Linked DNA regions of Homo sapiens: regions 2 and 3 are each linked to region 1. Evidence: promoter capture Hi-C in 16 types of primary human blood cells and fetal thymus (Javierre and others, 2016). All regions are on one chromosome and are shown on one strand. Each heading gives the region's core, a stretch centred on a gene start or on the middle of the fragment in contact. The rest is flanking DNA. Distances are from core to core; before and after follow the strand shown. Region 1 holds the start of SMTNL1 (smoothelin like 1). Region 2 overlaps CTNND1 (catenin delta 1). Region 3 overlaps CTNND1 (catenin delta 1).

Region 1 (2,763 bases), core at 28-2,527:
ACCCCCAGCATTCACAGCCCTACAGCAGTTTACAGCTTATGCTGCGGAGGCCCTGCTTTCTCTTGGTCATTTCTTGCTCCGACCCTTCAGAATAGGTTATTGGCCCCATTAGGGAGCCAATGGGGATTTCAGGCTCAGGGAGTTGAAGTCCCTTGACTAAAGTTATAGGACAAGTGGCCTGGCTCTCTATCTAGAATCCAAGTATCCCAACTTCCACTCCAGAGCTCACATCAAATATATGCTCCCACTAGCTCCGCAGCCCAGTGTCCCTACAAAGGCCCTGGCCCAGAGTGGGGGCACCCCACCAGTTGGGAAGGGCAGTCAGATTCAGCCGAGGAGTTCCTCCCTCTTTCTTCTAGGTGCACAGTAGGCCCTTCATGAAAGTTTCTCTGCCCCCACCTTCCTTTCTTATTCTCTCCTTTCCTTCCTCCTTCCTTCCCCAGGAAGTCTCCAAACCATCCCTGTTTTGTGTCCAAAGCAGCACTGCAGATATCTCCCCTCCCTCTCTCTTCCTGTTTCTTCTGGCAGACCAGGAGGAAAGGGACCCAGGAGCCCAAGATCCAAACTCCCAGTAGTATAAACACTGGATGTTCTGTGGTGCGTCTGCCACCCACTGCAGCCTCATCTGTCATCTGGTTGTCCTAAGGCTTCCACCTTCCCCACTCAGCCAGGGGCCCTCCCTTGGAGAGGCCGACCTCAATTGCTTAGACTAGGGGTATCCAATCTTTTGGCTTCCTTGAGCCACACTGGTAGAAGTAGAAGTGTCTTGGGCCACATGTAAAATACGTTAACACTAACGATAGTGGATGAGCTAAAACAAAAATTGCAAAAAAAAAAAAAATCTCATAATGTTTTAAGAAAGTTTATGAATTCATGTTGGGCTACATTCAAAGCCATCCTGGGCCACAGGTAGCCTGTGGGCTGGACAGGCTTGGCTTAGACAGTCTACCCCCCAACCCAGTTTGACTCTTGAGACTCCCAAGGTCCCCTCCCCTGCTCTGTGGCCTCCTCGTGGATGGCCACTTGCAGTCTGCTCTGTAGGTGCTCTGGTGCAGGGCTGAGACCCCAGGCATCTAAAGAGAGTAGACATTGTGGTGGAGAGAATTAGAAAGGAGCCTGGATTTCTCCAAATGGGGGGCCCTCCTGGGAGGCTCTGGCCCTTGGACAGTGGGAGTGAGAATTGGCAGATGGGGAGGGACCCTTAGAAAGGGTGCCAGGGCTTCTCCTACCTGTGGGGCTTCTGCCTGTGGCTTGGGAGCTGTCTCTTTGCTCCAGCTGAGTGGCCTCACTCCCAGGCTGCCTTTAAGCCCCAGTGGCCTCTAGCCCCCAGCTCTTTGGTCCCGCCTCCCCCCTTCCTCTCCCTCTTCCACCCCACCCCCACTTCAAGAGTCTTGGGCTGCCTGAAGAGCATTGTTTACTGGCCTGTTGGTACAACACTTTACCCTAGACTGGGAGGCTCGGATTTCCCGTGGAAGATCTGACAGGTGGCACCTTTCAATCACGGCACGTCCCTTCCGCCCTGAGCCTGGCAGCATCCGTCCTGTGGTCATCTTTCTCCCCAGTGGACTCTCCTAACCCTAGGGACCTTGACAACCATCTTCAGGACTCATTTAGAGCATGGCCCTGGCCTCCACTGCTCATCCAGAGCCCAGGCGAGGCCTCTTGTGCTCCCTTCACACCCACCCCGCCACGTTCCTTACATAGCCCCTTTCCCTCGTCCTCAGACAAAAGCAGCTGCTTAAGGCTGGGCTAAGGAGGGGGCGAGTAGGGCAGCTGCCAACACAGGGGATGTGTCTTGGGGCTCACAGTTGACTGAGAGATTTGGAGGGGGAGGGGCAGAGAGGGCAAAAGTGATGGGACAAGCTGACGGATCACTGGACGGAGCCTGGAAAATACAAAACTCCTGAGTTCTATTTTGAGCTGAAGTGACAGGTACACAGTAGGCTCTGAACACATTTTTATACTGAACTGACATTTTGCTAAGAAAAAAACAAAACAAGCCTGGGCATGGTGGCTCATGCCTGTAATCCCAGCACTTTGGGCAGCCGAGGCGGGTGGATTGCTTGAAGCCAGGAGTTCAAGAACAGCATGGTCAACAGGGTGAAACCCTGTCTCTACTACAAATACAAAAATTGGCCGGGCTTGGTGGCGCATGCCTGTAATCTCAGCTACTTGGGAGGCTGAGGCACGAGAACTGCTTGAACCTGGGAGGCAGAGGTTGCAGCAAGTCACTGCACTCCAGCTTGGGTGACAGAGACTCCATCTCAAAAAAAAGTCTTCACTTTCTCTGTGTGTTTTACAATCTAAGAAAGGCACTACTTTTGGAGAATGGGTGCAGAGGACACTCCCACGAAGCTTGGGATCCCCCCCAGTCCTCCTACCCCAAGCCCCACCACTGGGCCACACTGGCCTCCTTCCTATTCCTTAAATAAATCCATCCCTTTTCAGACTCAGGACTGGTTTTTCCTTCTACTCTTTGTAAGACTGCCTCCCTCTCATTCTTCTGGACTTAGCTGAAATTTCATTCCCTCAGAGAGGTTTTCCATGACCTTCAATTCCTCTCCCTCATTTCAGCAGTTTTTATTGTCCTCATAATACTAAATCTAAAATTACCTTATTCATTTCCTTATTATCTGACTCTCTCACTAGGCTTTAAGCTCCATGAGGGCAGGGATTTTATCTACCATACTCATGGCTGTATGCCTAGATCCCAGCAGAATTGCCTGGCTCATATTAGGTACTTGATAAATACATACTGAATGA
Region 2 (2,794 bases), core at 63-2,562, 260 kb before region 1:
CTATACTACTTTTTCTTTATTCCTTTCCCTTGGAATGCTGATTATGCTCCACAAAATTTTGTTTTATTCACTAACGGATCACACAAATAGATCACAACCCACAATCTGAAAAACTACTGCTCTAAATAAAGCAAGAACCACAAGCTTAAATGTCTATATGGGTCAAGCCGGTGAGTCAAGAGAGGAAGATAATTAAAAGAAATTACAAGCATGTGAAAAAATAGCAGTTGACAGCTCCATGTTTGGGAAACAACTTCCTAAACAGCTGTAGTTGGTCAGATAATAGAATGTGTTGGAGATTAGTGTAAATTAGAGAGCACATGCTCCAATCAGTTCAGACCAAATACTGCTAAGGAAGAAAAGAGATCCATTGTTAACAACTCTTCCACGTTTTTAATAGAAGCCAAGAATCTGGAATTTTAAGTGAAATCTTCTGAATTTTAAACATCAGCAACCAGTTCTTTAAAATTTCAATAATGCTGTGTGATCCAAACAAATCTGTGAGATGGATTTGACCCACAGCCACCAGTTCACAACCTTTCATCAAAAGTAAAAGGTCTGGAAATCCCTCTAGTTCTCAACATCACTAGAGAGTAACACTGACTTAGCAATTTTCCTTAGGCCTAGAACTCACCGGTAATAACTTCAGTAAGGTCCATATCACGAGCCTTTCGAAGCAATCGCACAAGGGCAGGCACACCATCACAGTTTTTTATGGCAATCTTGTTATCCTGGTCACGTCCAAAAGAGATATTCTTGAGAGCTCCACAGGCTCCAAGGTGCACTTCCTTTTTGGGATGGTCTAACAATCCCACCAGTACTGGGATGCCCTTGAGCTTCCGCACGTCAGTCTTCACCTTGTCATTGCGGTAGCATAAGTGTTGCAGGTATGCAGCTGCATTGGACTTGACAGCATCCAAGCGGAATCCAAGCATGGCGATCACCTCTGGCAGCTCTGGCTGTCTCCAATTAGGAGGTGGAGGCCCTCCTTTGCGCAGGCTATCCAAGCTTGCTAAACTTCCTCGCTCATGCTGGGCCAAAGGAGCCCAGTAGTATTGATCCGATGGCACCTCCTCACCAATCATGTCTTCATAGCTCCTGAGAAGTTTTGGAAGAACCAAGAGAATACATCAAGTCATTATGGCTAGCTTCCTGGACATTCCCATTACCCTCATCTGCAAAGGAGGATTAACTGGAGTTTCAGTGTGCTCATCTTATCTCTCCTTTGCATGAATAATATACTGATCAATTTTCCTCAATGGGTTAGTAAAAATAAAAGGTAATAATTTTAAAAACACCTGCAATTTAATTAAAACTACATTTTTTTCTTTGAAGTCTGCAGGCTTAGAAAGTAACAAGCATTCAGGAAAGGCTAATCAAAAAGAAAGAACCAAATCCTTACTACTTATCATTTATTTGAATGATATCTGACAGTTATTAACTTGTCTAGGTAGAGATCAGGATAAACTCTCAGAGAACAGAATTAACCAAAGCAACTGACTCAATGCCACAGAAGTCTGAGAACAGTTCCTTAACCAAACAGGAAATTAGGCATTTACACACAGGAAACAACTGGTAGGATAAGACCTTTAAATACATTTCATATTTAAGCTTCTCCTTATCCTATTTTGGAAATTATAAAAGATGGATTGATAGAGAAAAACTAATAAAGGGCTTCCTGCTACATCACAGGAGGATCTGGCTTTGGTACTGATGAGGTATAAACTTGAAAAGTAATTTTCACAGTCATTCCAAGGTCATGTCTGCTACTCAACAAATGTGTTAAGAGGTAAGATTCCATCCTCCAATTTCTAAAGACAATACCTCCAGCTCTTTCAAAATGAAGCCTATTCACCAACATCACATTTGGGAAGCCCAGCCACTAGGAACAGAGAAAGCAATTGAAAGTAAGAAAAATCAAACCAGGAGACAATTCTTCCTGTTTCAGTACTACCAACAACCACTAGAGGGTGAGTCTGTCACACTATTATTTATTCGTAACTACCAGGAAGGAAGAAACCCATTATCTGTGAGCTCATCTCTTTCTGGCTCCCACAGGAGAGGATAATCTATTGTGTGGAGCTCTCCAAATAAGCCATTGTTTGTTCTACAAAACCACTCCCACTGTCAACAAATACTCAAGGTTGCCCTGAGCAGAAGGCCTGCCTCACAGGTATCAACATCAACTATGCAACAGTGATTCAGATGGACAAAGCATTTAGTAAACCATGACCAAGATGGTCTTAAAATAACACGGAAACAGGACCAGGCATGGTGGCTCACATCTGTAATCCCAGCACTTTGGGAGGCTGCAGTGGGCGGATTACCTGAGGTCAGAAGTTCGAGACCAGCATGGCCAACATGGAAAAACACCATCTCTACTAAAAATACAAAAATTAGCTGGGCATGGTGGTGGGCACCTGTAATCCCAGCTACTTGGGAGGCGGAGGCAAGAGAATCGCTTGAACCCAAGAGGTGGAGGTTGCAGTGAACTGAGATTGTGCCACTGCACTCCAGCCTAAGTGACAGAGCGAGACTCTATTTCGAAGAAAAAAAAAAAAAGGTCAAGATTAAACCCTTCAAATCAAGAAGGGGGTACTAAAAATGCCCAAACAGCTGGTAAAACAAAATTGGTTGTCTTCTAAACTATTATGTATCACTTTTGCATCCACCCCAACCATAAAAATTTTCTGCTTACTATAAAATTAAGGAAAAGTATTTACTAACATTATAAAATACCATGCATGGAACAAAAAGCCTCCTGGGTATAATACCAGATCGCACCACTGCTCTC
Region 3 (3,227 bases), core at 343-2,842, 280 kb before region 1:
GCACTGTCCATTAGCACTAGAGATACTGGGGGAAAAGACAGCAGGGTAGTAATACTTTTGTGTCCTCAATAAAAGTGGAATAACCTGTCTTTTTTAAAAAATAAAGTAGTATATGGAGATAAGTATAGCACTTTTTCTCAGGTAAAAAAAAATTTTAAAGCTAGTTGCCACATGCTTATAGCTCCTACAATTATAACAAGTGTAAAGCTCTTAGTCCATTCATGGATAGCTATCCATGGTCATTTTACACTGCATAAAAGGAGAAAAATGTCAGGTTAAAATGATGCAGACCAATCAACCTATCTTACCTCCTCCAGCTTTCTCTTCATCCATGTCTGTCTCTAAATCCTGGATGGATCAGTTGAAGAACTAATGCTTTAAGTGACACAGGCAACAGAACAGTCTTAAAGCTGTGTGAAAAAAAATTGTTCCTAACAATTATCTTGTTTCTTTTTTGAGCTTTCCTGAGGTAGCTCTTTCTGGAAGCTACCAGAGTGATTTAAGTTTCCAGATGTGGTCTCCTTGGCTTTAGCCAATGGGGCCACTTGCTCGCCAGTTGAGATACCCTTTGTAGCTAGAAGTGACACTTAAGTCAAAGTCGGCAATTCCAGGGGATTCTCTGTGACCTACAGGACCCCAAATTAAGGGCTAGCTTCCTGCCTCAGCAACCTGAGCATTACCTACATATGATTTTCAGGATGAGAAGCTTCTCCTACCCAGATACCACACACCAACCTATCACTTACCATTATCTCAAACTCTATTGAAAGCAATGCATTCCTTTGAGATAAAGTTTCCTCTATGAATGCTCTCTTAAAATGGTGATCACCACATCATATTGTCTACATTCACCATGCTAGTATTACTGCCAGTGGAGTTGAAGCCAGTAATCCTGGGTTCCACTTTGAGGCTATAACCTTAAGCAAGTCACTAGATCAGTCCCTTAAGTCACAGTTAACTGACCACATACATCAGAATAACCTGGATGGGCCAGGCATGGTGGCTTATGCCTGTAATCCCAGCACTTTGGGAGGCCTAGGTGGATGGATCACCTGAGGTCAGGAGTTCAAGACCAGCCTGGCCAACATGGTGAAACCCCGTCTCTACTAAAAATACAAGTATTAGCTGGATGTGGTGGCGGGTGCCTGTAGTCCCAGCTCATCAAGAGGCTGAGGCAGGAGAATCGCTTTAATCCGGGAGGCAGAGGTTGCACTGAGCTGAGATCGTGGCATTGCACTCCAGCCCGGGTGACAAGAGTGAAATTCCGTCTCAAAAAAAAAAACAAAAACAAAAACAAAAAAAAAGAGGATAACCTGGATGACTTACCATGATTTTAGATTCCTCAGTCCCACCTACTGAATCGATTTTTGGAAATGGAACATGGGACTCTGCATTTTCAACAAGCATACAGGGAATTCTTATGTAACTTGCTCAGATATACAGGGCTAGGTCTAGTCAATTCCATCTATGAAAATATTAAGAACCTTTGCTTCAGATATAAAAATAGACAAAATGAGAAAAAAATGATATGGAAAGACTGGTTCTTAGTTCTTCCTGGGTGAGGTGATTCCAGTTTGTAGCAAAGAAAATTAGTTCAGCAAGAAAAACAAGTGGCCGGCCATGCGCAGTGCCTCACACCTGTAATGCCAGCACTTTGGGAGGCCAAGAAGGGTGGATCACTTGAGGTCAGGAGTTTGAGACCAGCCTGGCCAACATGGTGAAATCCTGTCTCTACTAAAAATACAAAATTAGCCAGGCGTGGTGGTACACACCTGTAATCCCAGCTACTCGGGAGGCTGAGGCAGAAGAATCGCTTGAACCCAGGAGGCTGAGGTTGCAGTGAGCCGAGATTGTGCCCCTGAGTGACAGAGCAAGACTCTGTCTAAAAAAAAAAAAGTGGCCAAGTGAGGTCCCAGCTTTGACCTCTGTCACAAAGTACATCAGTGTCAAGAAACTTGTGAGATAGGGCCTTTACACATCATTCTGTGTAACATCTCATTGTATTTAGATATGGCACAGAGAGAAGTGTTTTTAAGATCATAGATCTTGTCTATGGCCATATCACCCTGAACGCACACGATCTCGTCTGATCATAGATCTTAGCTATAGAGGATTCTCATGGATTGCAATCTATGAGAAAAGATCCATCTGTTTCACTCTCTAATCTAAACCTAACCTTGACACAACGCTTAGCATATAGGAGGTGCTTGGCAAATATTTATTGAATGAGATAAACAAATGGACCAATCCAGAAGGAAGAGAGAAGAGTAGGGTTTGTATCTAGCTCAATGCCAAAGGATAAGAACATAACAGGGAAATAAAGTGTTGCTGACAAGCAGCCAGGCTTTTCTATTTAGATAAAAATCATCTCAAGCAGGGCTATCAAAACTCTTTGGAAAGTAAACTCTTAATAGCTTTTTGGCTTTGTACTTCAACCTCTAATCTAACACTACAATTGTTAGACACAAATCAAGCTTTAAAAGCTAGTTGATTTCCTGGTCTCACTAGCCCATGAAAGTTTTCATACCCAAGTCCTAGTTCAATAAAACAAGACAGGACCATCATCAGGAGCAGCTATATAATTTTAATCTAAAGATTTGGGCATACAGAAAGCATTTCACATAAATTCTCTTGAGTCTTTAATTATATGACAGGACATAAGGACCTCAGAAAAATAAGTATCTTCCCATAGATCTTAACCCTTGATCTCTGCAGCAAAGATAGTCCCTGGTAATCCAGGTAATATGGTCTGTAAAATATTAATAAATAGGCCTATTGACTTCTGACTAAAGGACTGCATATAGCCTGAGAAGCAACATTATGGCCCAGTGGTCAGTACTTATATACATGGGCCTTTTGATCCTACATTTTCCTATTACGTAGTTGGGATTGGTAGTTTCTAATCTTCTAGTCCTAAGTGTTATATTTAAGAGAGCTACGTATTACAGTGGGCCTTATTCAAGGTTAGTTTTGTCAAATGTTGCAGAAGAATTCCAGTAATTAAAGTAAGTCATTAATTCTTTATGCTTCAGTTTCCTATCTCTAAATTAGCAATAAGCTCCCATGTTCAACTTCAGCCACATTCAATTTTTAAGAATCTTCAGAAGAAAAAATGTTTCACATATAGTTAACAAGAATGTTGCTTGATAAAGAGTTGGGGCTGAGCTCAAAATAAATCCTGGTATAACCTCCTTCTGGTTGCTCTGGAAAGGACACTGATACATAAG

What was found. Contacts are between HindIII fragments. The CHiCAGO score rates a contact against its expected background, and 5 or more counts as called.
Region 2: a fragment that was not itself captured here is called in contact with the fragment with the promoter of SMTNL1 in region 1 in 2 of 17 cell types (naive CD8 T cells and total CD8 T cells); the score reaches 5.6 in naive CD8 T cells.
Region 3: a fragment that was not itself captured here is called in contact with the fragment with the promoter of SMTNL1 in region 1 in 1 of 17 cell types (total CD8 T cells); the score reaches 8.1 in total CD8 T cells.

The regions. Positions count from the first base shown.
Region 1 is chr11:57,536,109-57,538,871 of GRCh38, reverse strand. SMTNL1 (smoothelin like 1) reads right to left here and starts at 1,277. Exons shown (of 8, transcript NM_001105565.3): 1 at 1,230-1,277. The HindIII fragment of the contact is 14,036 bases long and covers 1-2,357 here.
Region 2 is chr11:57,800,037-57,802,830 of GRCh38, reverse strand. CTNND1 (catenin delta 1) reads right to left here. Exons shown (of 21, transcript NM_001085458.2): 7 at 635-1,098. It overlaps TMX2-CTNND1 (TMX2-CTNND1 readthrough (NMD candidate)), which reads right to left. Exons shown (of 21, transcript NR_037646.1): 8 at 635-1,098. Among named protein-coding and RNA genes, the nearest start is that of CTNND1, 40 kb to the right of the region's middle. RefSeq lists an enhancer at 2,079-2,318. The HindIII fragment of the contact is 603 bases long and covers 1,011-1,613 here.
Region 3 is chr11:57,818,518-57,821,744 of GRCh38, reverse strand. It overlaps CTNND1 (catenin delta 1), which reads right to left. Exons shown (of 21, transcript NM_001085458.2): 21 at 2,205-3,227. It overlaps TMX2-CTNND1 (TMX2-CTNND1 readthrough (NMD candidate)), which reads right to left. Exons shown (of 21, transcript NR_037646.1): 21 at 2,565-3,227. Among named protein-coding and RNA genes, the nearest start is that of CTNND1, 58 kb to the right of the region's middle. The HindIII fragment of the contact is 1,768 bases long and covers 709-2,476 here.